Regions from separate parts of the Homo sapiens genome. Here region 2 is linked to region 1. The links are contacts of gene promoters, found by promoter capture Hi-C in blood cells and fetal thymus (Javierre and others, 2016). All regions are on one chromosome and are shown on one strand. Each heading gives the region's core, a stretch centred on a gene start or on the middle of the fragment in contact. The rest is flanking DNA. Distances are from core to core; before and after follow the strand shown. Region 1 holds the start of LINC02910 (long intergenic non-protein coding RNA 2910). Region 2 overlaps CDH26 (cadherin 26).

Evidence for each region. The method cuts DNA at HindIII sites, captures the fragments that hold promoters and counts their contacts. A CHiCAGO score of 5 or more calls a contact.
Region 2: a fragment that was not itself captured here is called in contact with the fragment with the promoter of LINC02910 in region 1 in 1 of 17 cell types (neutrophils); the score reaches 5.4 in neutrophils.

Annotation. Positions count from the first base shown.
Region 1 is chr20:60,054,424-60,059,750 of GRCh38, forward strand. It overlaps LINC02910 (long intergenic non-protein coding RNA 2910), which reads left to right and starts at 1,502. Exons shown (of 4, transcript NR_161293.1): 1 at 1,502-1,585; 2 at 4,484-4,563. RefSeq lists enhancers at 3,190-3,239, 3,250-3,429, 3,525-4,326, 4,033-4,282. The HindIII fragment of the contact is 13,245 bases long and covers 1-2,319 here.
Region 2 is chr20:59,959,006-59,964,333 of GRCh38, forward strand. All of the region lies in intron 1 of CDH26 (cadherin 26), which reads left to right. Among named protein-coding and RNA genes, the nearest start is that of CDH26, 3.2 kb to the left of the region's middle. The HindIII fragment of the contact is 5,313 bases long and covers 1-4,821 here.

The DNA of each region.
Region 1 (5,327 bases), core at 252-2,751:
CAAATATCTGTATGAGCCTAGATAAATGACAAGAAAGGAAAACAGTAAGATTTTTATAATGGTTATTGCTCAATGGTTGGATTTTTAAAAATACTCTTCTATAATTTCTAAATTTTATGCCCTGAGGATGTATTACCTCCATAGTCAGAAAAATTATGAAAGGTATTTAAAACCCAAACTGGCTTTGGGCATGCAGAATGCTTGGTTATTTCTGAAGTATAAAAATAACTCCCCCTCTGTCCCATCAGCACGCGTGTTGCAGGGAGTCTGACGTTGCTCGCTAAGTCTCTTTGGTCGTTTCATACTAATGCCCTTTGCTCCCCTGATTATCTCTCTGAGGTTGGGGCCGGGGGATGGGGGTGTGCTAGGCCTCCTGGATGTCTGTCTGCTGCCAAAACATCCTCTCCTGTCTCTGTCTCATTGGTGCATTTTGATGAACCTGTATTGCCTGGTCACTGCGCGCTAACCACCAAATTATGAAACATTTGTGCTGCAAGGGAGCTGAGAGATCCTTAAACTCAATGAACCATTAGGCATAAGACACACACACACACATACACACGTGAATACACACAAACACACAAACAGCTTGGCTGCTCTGGGTGAAGCATGTGTGTGTTTGGGGGAAATTTCCTTCCCCACCCGTGGTCGTCCATTTGCCCATGAGCAGCTTCCGAGGCAGGTCCGTGGACCCCAACGCTGTGTAACACCGTGTGAAAAACACAAAGGCTTGCAGCCCTCTCACTGCAGACGTGGGAACACGACTCTGTTTAAAACCCTTCAAAGCCCGCCTTCTTGCCGTGTGATGCTGCCTGGGCCAGCAGGGCAGGTCACCACGCTGTCTCTTCAAAGCAGCTCGCTCATGCCCACAGCGCTGGGCACAAGGGCAGCCACGAGCTGTTTGATTTCTGCGTCCCCAGCAGATGGCTTGGTGCACAGGGGCAGGGCTCGTCTGTCCCTCTCACTGCTGCGTCCCAGGCTATGTCTCCACCATGTAACTTCAGACAAGTTCCTCAGCGTCTCTGTGTCCTGGTTCCCTCATTTGTAACATCAGGATATTGATAAGGATCATAGTAATAGGGATGTCCTTATGGGGCCTCATGAAAATGAAGAGTTCTCTGTGATGTGCCTGGAACCACAGAGGGCAGCAAGTGGGAGCCACAGAAAGTCATCTCTTTATCATAGTTGTCATTGGTAACTATGACGGTTATCAAGGGCAGGGGTCTCCCACCTTCTGCATCCAGGCCTTGTCATTCCTTATAAAATTTTCTCCTTTCAAGGACTTTCAATGCCCTGAAAACGGAATGCTCCTCCCTGCTCCCCATCAGCTGCTGCAGAGCCCTGAACCCCTTGAACTTGCCTTGCTTAGTTCTTTCAGGGGCTGCCTTGGATGCCACCTCACTTCCCTCTTCTTGGCTCTGTGGCTGTCAGAGGGGCTGGGCACTGGGTTACTTCATCAGTTCCTGGGTGTTGATCGGCAGGAAACAGTGGTTTCCTGTTCATATCCTGCCTGAGCCTGGGCCGGGTGGAGGTGTCCTGCATGGAGTCTTGTGAAATCGCGTGGACTGCAACACCCAGCAGCGCGGTGAGTCCACCCTGAAATCCACAGTGACCCACGCGGCATGTGCTGGGAATTGAACGCTTGGGGAAAGAGCTGGGCTCCAGCGGATCAGCCCCGACCAAGTCGTTCCCACAGCTCAGGACCGGACGCTACAAGCCCACTTTGTAGCAGTTTGGCGGACGGCAAACTTTTGCAACACAGTGCAAAAACCATTTAACACCTTTAAGGGAATTGGAAATGGGTTTTTCATGTGTGGTGGTGCTGAAAATTGAGAATAATGACAGAATTATTAAAAACAGCCTTCTCGGCCTTAGACTCTTAATTGCCTCTGGTCTGTAAAACTGACAAATAAGCACTGTAGAAGCCACAGATGAAATATGTCGTCTTGGGAGCCCTGGAGAATTGTCTCTGAATTCTTTTGTTTATGGATTGTAGAAACTGCTTTGGGGGTAGTTGGATGTAGAAGCAGAAGGACAGAGTGGGGAGCTGGGAGCAGGAGGCCTGGGTTTGTCTCCTGAGTCTGTTTCCACTGGGGCCTGAGGCTCCCGTGTGAGGGAACATGAATGGGCCAGGCACATGGGCCCTGTGGGGTGACAGAGCTGTGGGCTCCATGGTGGCTCTGTGGGCAGCTAGCTTGGGGATGGCTGAGATAAAGACAAGTAGTTTTCCTTCCTGCAGGACTTCTCAGAGCCTTTAGTGTGGTTATAATGATAGAAAACAGTATTAAGTCCATACCCTGAACCAGAAACAATGCTAAAAGCTTTGCACTTGGCCTTTTTTTTTCTTTTTCTTTTATCAACATGTGTGAGGACGGAAGCTTAGGCTTACAGATATGGACTCATTGAGAGTGAGTGGACGTGTCTGATCTTTAACCCAGTTCTGTCTGACCAAAAAGCCTGTGCTCTAACCACTGTGCACCCCTGCCTGTCTGTCCTGTTGAGAGAACTGTAGGGAAAGCCTTGAGATTATGTATCCAGTGCTCCCCTCCTCCTGATTGGAAGATGGCAGCTCAGAAGGTTAGGGTGCCTTCTCCTGTCCTCCGAGTGGTTAGATGCACGTGTCCTCTTCTGTCCTCTGCTCTTCCCACATCCCTCTCTCTCTGGTGCTCTGGTGGAGCCCCTGGGATCAGGGGTCACAGGAGCACCTGGGCCATTTGCATGGTTGTTGGTAAAGGGTGTTCCCCCACCCCCCATTAAGGTGCCTGCCATCAAAGTGCCTTATTGCTTGAGTTCCAATCTCGGCTTCACAACTCTGTAGCTGTGTGACTTTGCACAATGTACTGAGCCTCTCTGTGCCTGAACATCCTTGTTTGTAGATAGTAAAGATAATTGTCCCTTACTCCTAGGTTTCACATTGAGTGTTTAGCAAGTTAACGTTTGTAACGTGTGAAGTCATAAGATGCAGGACTGGATGACTGCCCTACCCACAAGAGGCCTAGGATCTTCCCAAGTTGCACTACTTATGGGACAGGTCTGCCAAGCAGCCCTTGTGAAGATAAAGGTGGTGATGAGTTCCTCCCACAAAACAAGAGCCTCAGAGAGACTGGAAAATAACCCCCGGTGCCTTTTATCAACTGGCCAGCAGATGGCAGAAGCAAGCCAGGAACAGAGCTTGTGTGCGGCGGCTGTGGCAGCTACCTTTGAAAATCCCGTGGTGTTTGGTGGTCGTATTAAGAGATCTCTGGTGTAGGAGCATCCTTCATTCTAAGCAGGATTCTGAACAAACTCAGAACTGGCTTTGTGGCTGGTACCGAGGACCCAGGGGTCACGGCTGCTCCCAGTGGGTGCTGATGCCCATTTGTTTGTGCAAGTTGGTCCCCTGTAGGGAGGACAGATGGTCTGTCTCGGACTTTCTGGCCTGTGCACCAAGGCCCAGGGATGGAAGTGGGGCAGCATGTCCCCATCATTAAATAGGGCGTTCTTGATAATAATCCCATAAGGCCTAATGTGATGGGTGTGGTCAATCATTCATTCATTCTGTGAGGATTCAGTGAGCAGCTACTCCATGCCTCTAGGCTCTGAGGACGCAGCATGAGAAACACACGGAAGGCCCACGATGACCAGGGAGCTCGCCTTCCAGGGAGAGAGGAGAAAAATAAATGGTAGGGAGTTAAACACGACAAAGTAGAAAAGGGCCAGCTGCAAGAATGAAATTAAATAGGAGGCTGGTGGCAGGGGGGCAGGGAAGCCTGAAGCACCTGACTGCCCAGAACAAGCCGCACCTGTGAGGAGCTGGGAAGGGCACTCCAGGCAGAGGGAGCACCAGAGCAAACCCTGGGAGGGGGATGAGCCTCTTGTTGAAGAACTAGAAGGAGGCCAATGTGGCTGAGCAGAACACATGAGGCGGAAGGAGGAAGTGAGGGGCCCTGGGCCTGGCCACCAACCGGCAGATCAGGGGTGAGGACTCCACTTGGGAGAGTGTGAATGGCCCAGTGTGAATGACAAAGCAGTTTCATGCAGCTCAGCCTGTCTGGCTAAGTGCGCAGCCCTGAGGATTGGGCTCTGAGCGTTGCAGCCCTTCTGAGTCTGTGGGCCCCTCTCCCAGGAGGATCAGGTTGCCCAGGGCAGCTGGAAATGTCCTTAAGTGACTCCTTGCTGCTGCTGCCGCTGCGTCTTGCTGACATCATTTCCCCGCAACAAGCGCTGGTCTCCTGGGGCGGCTGCCCCCTCTCATCTGCACATCTAGCTCCCCTGCCAGGCCTGTGCTGTTTTCCGGGGCCTCACAGAGAAGCTCAGGCAGGTGGAGCCTCAGCAACAGGCGCCATCCTCCCCTTCAGCCTGTCGCGGCTCCTCCCTGGGGCATGCTTGAAAGCCCAGACATGTTCTTCACATCTGAGAAAGCAGTTAAACTGAAATTCCTGGCAGACTCAGGTTCAAATCCTTATTAGGCTGTTAAGTGAGAGGGGATTTCATTTCCTTGCAGCCGCCCTGGGTCCTGCCACTGAGCAGCTGTTGGTAGGCTCTGCTGTGAGGTCTCCTCTTCCGGCTTTCCCACTTCCCAAGGTAACCTGGTGTGGGGAGGAAGCCGGGGGCCTCTGGTGAATGGGAACCTGTGCAAAGAAGGAGCCGAGGGCAGGGAGAGGTGGGATAAGACCCAGCGTGGGGGCCTGAAAGTGAGGCCAGCAGAGAGTCATTGAGAGGCCCTCGGAGAATACGTTCTGGGGACGCAGTCAGGGAACACCTGTTTCCTGCTGTGTGACTCTCACAACCCAGCTGTGGACACACACGTATGTACATATATGCACACACAGGAACACATATGCACACACAGGAACACATGCACACATGGACACACATATACACACGATGAATACACATACAGACACACATTCATATATACACACATACCTATGTATACACATGTACACACATACACTCACATGCACATGCACATATAGACCTACAGATACATAAATGTACATCCTTATAGATGCGTACATATACAGTACACATGCATGTACTCACAAATACTTATGCCCACATCTACATATATGTATAATACATATATACACATATAGATATATACATATATACTCACATGTCTATGTATAAACACACACCTATATGCACATGCCTATACATATATGCACATACATGCCCACATACACCTATGTAAACATATACACACATCTATATTTAAATATGCTCATGCATGCATATATACACACATATATACACATTTATGCATGTGCATTCATGTACATATACACACATGCACTGACATCGACACATGCATGACACAATGATATAGATATACACACATATAT
Region 2 (5,328 bases), core at 915-3,414, 95 kb before region 1:
TGGGAGCAGGCTAAGGGACCTGTTTAAAACTAATTTATATAGTTCACACTATTTTTAGTGAGATTACATCAACACACACGTGTTTTCTTTCTTTGTTTCTTTCTCCTTTTGTTGAGACAGGGTCTGGCTTCATCATCCAGGCTGGAGTGCAGTGGCATGATCAAGGCTCACTGCAGCTTTAACCTCCCAGGCTCAGGTGATCCTTCCACCTCAGCCTCAAGAGTAGCTGGGACTACAGTAACTTACCACCACGCTGGCTAATTTCTGTATTTTTTATAGAGATGGATTTTCACCATGTTGCCCAGGCTGGTCTCGAACTCCTAAGCTCAAGTGATTTATTCGCCTTGCCCTTCCGAAGTGTTGGGTTTACAGGCATGAGCCACCTCACCCAGCCAACACACACAATTTTTTTTTTTTTTTGAGACAGGGTCTCGTCATCCAGGCTACAGTGCGTGGTGACATCTCAGTGCACCGCAACCTCCTCCTACTGGGTTCAAGCAACCTCCTGGCTCAGCCTCCCGAGTACTGGGACTACAGGTGCACGCCACCATGCCCGGCTAGTTTTTGTATTTTTATTAGAGACAGGGTTTCACCATGTTGGCCAGGCTGGTCTCAAACTCCTGACCTCAAGTGATCTGCCTGCCTCAGCCTCCCAAAGTGTTAGGATGACAGGCTTGAGACACTGCGCCCTGCCAAGTTTTATAATGATACTTCTGTTCACACTTTACATAAGATTGAGGAAATCTCAGTTGTCTGGATCCAAGGCAATTTGAGCAAACCCATGGGGATGGAATGGCTAAATCCATTGCCCCCAACTGCCACTGTTTAAATGGGAATACAAACTAGTGGAGTCAGGATTCGAAACACATGGGCTTGCTCTGTTTGTACTTAGAGTGGACAGAGGTAATGTTGCATGCGCTTGTTGGTTATGATCTGCTTCGTTGGCTTTCTGTAGGTAGGGAGAGGGAATCATTTCTTCCTTTGAATACCAGCTGAGGGTGGGAAGCAGCCCAGTGGCTGGTAACTGTGAGCTCTGGACTGGGCTGCTTGGCGTCCTGACCTAGGCTCCTTCACAGCCCGCTGGGGACCTAGGCCAGCTTAACTTTGTTCCTTACCTTGGATCAAGTTGAACTTACCTAGGGAGCTTCAAGGGATCTCAGTGCCTGGGTTTTGCCCCCAAAGGTTCAGGTTGAGCTGACCTGGGAGTGCACTGGGTGTCAGTGCACTGGTTTTAACATAACCTTGTTAAGCCTATTTTTCTTCACCTGAAAATGGAGCTAGTAACTGAATTTATCTGAGCCAGTGGTTGTACCAGTGAATGAGGAAATGCGTAAAAGCCCTTGGTACTGCGAAAGTTGTCAGAATCAGAATGGAGTTCCTTATGTTAAAACACACACACACACACACACACACACAGGCACAAAGCCTGATATATAGACACAAAGAAGGTTATGAAAAGGGGGTTCTCACATTTGTAGGCTTGATAACTAAAACTATCACAAAAGCTCTGCAAAAATAACAACTTTGCACAAAGGCCGTTAAAACCTTACACAAAAAATACTTTTTCGAAGAAATCTTCCCAGCAACTTTTTGTGCAAACTCAGACCAGTGTCACCCTTCTTATTGATCTTTGTAGCCAAAGATAATTATTTCAAAACAATGATATAATCCTTCTCATTTTTTCCTTTGAAAACCTTTATCTCCCTTTACCTCCCTGACTCTGCACATCGTTTACCATGGCACACATATTCCCATGGATATGTCCTTGCCCAGACAAACGTCATCTTCTCTTAGAGAGCCTCTGTCTACTATTAGGTTCACAGTTCAGTAACGACCCAGCCGTTTTTCTAATCACAGTGAAAATGGTTGGCAATATTCATTCAGAGCTCATGCTAAAACTATTTACTGGATACCTGCTTTGGGCCAGGCACTGGGAATACACCAATAAACATAATAGGGGGAAAACCCTGTCTGAAAGTGGATAACTTGTTTGGTACCAGTTGCTTGAGGTTTGGAGAATTTTCTTGGTCACATTTTGCCATATCAAGAGTTACGAGTTTCCTTAGTCAGACAGCACATTAATTTGATCTCCAATACTTCACAGAAGTCCTTTTTAGTAGCCCATGTTTGCATGGATTTGAATATAGTCCAGATCAAATCCTGTCCCCATCCTTCCCTCACTCCTGCTCCTACCCACAATGAGTCTGATCAGGAAACAGACCTGAATTCTCTTCCCTCTGGCGTATTAGTGCAGTGCCAAAGCAAATTAATTGACTTCTGAGGGTGGTTGGGTGGGGGTGGGCAGTGGGAATGGGTCTGTGGATTGTACTTCAGTGATTGATGACAGCAGCTTTATGTAGATTCCAGGGAATCAAGACAGATGAAGAGAACATGATTCAATAGATGTAAGAAGTTTTTAGCAATCAGAATGCTGGACCTTTAACTCTTAAAGAGCTTTACACCTGGCAGGTGCTCAATAATTGTCAAATTGGCTATGAGTAACATTCCGTTCCATTCCTTTACATCCCCGCCCCCTGAATTGGCTTATTGCCATCTGTGACATCTATGACAGATACCTACTTCCCCCTGTTCAGATCTCCATATTTACAAGCTGATACCATTTCTGCTGGAGAGCTATTGTGTCCACAATAGTTTTCCTCTGAAATCCCCACACCCTTTCTTTGTCATTTGGCCATGAAGCCAAATCACCAAGTCAGGATTCTGTTCTGCAGGTTTATGTCTTTGTTCCAGGTTCAGTGACAAGTAATGACAAGCCAAGGAAGAGGAGTTTTCTCCCCTTTTGTCATTTCCAGGCCTCTGAGCTCATATGTCCTCACCTTGGGGCTGTGGCAGGCTTCAAAGACCAGAGAAGAGGGAAGTTTTAAGAGAATGAAACTGTACAATGAGAAAAGCCACTTATGATTTTTTGTTGTTGGTGGTGGTGGCGTTGTTACCAATCTGGGAAATTCTGAATTGAGTTACATTTTAATAAATTGTTAGCATTTATGCTCTGACTGAATTACTCTTTCAGCCCTTCATTTAAGACCAACAGAGTGATGGGTTGCAGAAGGTGGGGATAGTGTGGTCAGAGGTGAAGCTGAGAGGGTCAGCAGGGGACAGAGCAGGTTGGATTCTGTCCTAAGAGAAGTAAAAACACTGGGGGGAAAGGGGTGTGAGATCTGTGCTTTTAAAGATCACTCAAGCCTCTGTGCAGAGAATGTGTTAGGAACATATATTAGTGTCCTCAGACTGCTGAAACAATGAACCACAAACTGGTACGTCGGCTTAAAATAGGAGAAATGTACTCTCTTGCAGTTCTAGAAGTCAGAAGTCTGAAACCAAGGCGTCAGCAGGGCCAAAATCCGTCTGAGACTGGGAGGACCCTCCCTGGCCTCTCCCCAGCTTCTGGTGGGTTGCTGGCAATCCCAGCTGTTTCTTGGCTTGCAGCTACGTCACTCCAGTCTCTGCCCCTGTCATGACATGGCATCATCCCTTTGTGTCTGTGTTTTCCTATCGAGACACTGCTCACTAGATTAGGGCCCACTCTAACCCAGTGTGACTTCATCTTAACTGTAATTCAGTTAAGAATTACATCTGCAAATAGCCTATTTCCAAATAAGGTCCCGTTCACAGGTACTGGGAATTAAGTCTTCAATATACGCTTTTAGGGACACAATTCAACCCACCACAGAAGGATGGAATGAATGGGAGAGACCAATCCTGTGGGTTCCCGAGGTGGTGGAAACTTTAGCTGTTTGGGGTGGAGGCAGAGAAGAGCTGGCCTTAGGAAGTGAACTTGACAGAACTTGGACATGGGGATGAGAGAAGCAGAGGCATCAAGGATGACCTTTGGAATGAGTAGGTAAGTGTCTTTTGTGGTTAGAGAGCCCCCAGGATGGGCAGGATTGTGAGAATACAAGCTATGCTATCAGTCTGGGACATGTAGGATTTGAGTTGCTTGTGGGAGATGCCAGTGGAAATGTTGCCTAGAGACTTGAATAGGAAAAAGAGGAGATACTTACGTAGCCCTTGCCATCCTGAGCACTTTGTGTGTGAGTGTTGTATGTTAAAAAGGAATAATAATAGTACCTTCATGATTGGGCTGTTGTGAGGATCAAATACATACAAACACTTATACATGTACGTATGTGGGGGTTGTGCATGTGTGTGCACAGATGAGGAAATGCAGACTCCAGAGCATAAATTACCTGCCCGACATCACATAGCTGGTGAGGGGTAGATAAGGATTTTTTTTTTTTTTTTTTGGCAGGGTCTCACTCTGCTGCCCAGGCTGGAGTGCAGTGGTATGATCTCAACTCACTGCAACCTCCGCCTCCCAGACTCATGCGATCCTTCCACCTCAGCCTCCCAAGTAGCTGGAACTACAGGCATGGGCCACCATGCCTGGCTAATTTTTATATATTTTGTAGAGACAGGTTTTTGCCATATTGCCCATAGAACAGGATTTAAACTCAGGTCTTCTAAACTTATAAATCCACATGCTTAACCAATACTTTATACTATCTGCATTGGCCTCTAGTCACATGTGGCAATTTAAGTTAATTAAAATTAAGCAAAATTTAAAATTCAGTCCTATACTAGCACTAGCCACATTTTAGGGGCCCAATTAGCCACATGTGGCTAGGGGCTACCACACTGGCCAGGACAGCAGGGACATTCTCATCTTCACAGAGATTTTCCTAGGACTGCCCTGGTCTAGAGCCCAGAAGAGAGATATTGGGTACGGATTAAAAGAATCTCTAGAGGAATCTCTCATAGGAAATTCTGTGATTTCTAGGGTCCAAATTCTCCCTGAATGAAAGCTTAAGAGGCTTTCCTCATCATCCAAAAATAAAAAAAAAAAAGAGGCTTTCCTCACTGTCCAATTTCATTATCTTAAAACCTCTCTCCTCCATGGTCTTTCAAGCCTGCCACAGACCCAAGCTGAGGACTCGTCGGCTCTCAGAACTGGAAATGACTGAAGAGGGGAGAAAGACTCCTTTCCTATGGCTAGTCATTACTTGTCACTGAATCTGGAACAAAGACATAAACCTGCAGAACAGAGTCCTTGATCCAAATTCTGCTGATTTTTAGGACTCGAATTCTGCTTAAATAAAAACTTGCATTTAAAAATGAAATACTTCCAAGCATTTTGGGAGAGAATGATTTCTATATAGGCCTCTTAGCTCTTTAGTATCCTGTATAGTCACAGATTACATCTTCATTCATTCAGAGAATTTTCTCCCAAAAGATGCCATGGCTGCCCAGCCAGGCCAGCCTGAATGATATTGGTTACATGCCCCAGGTCCAGAGCCATCTGTCAAATCA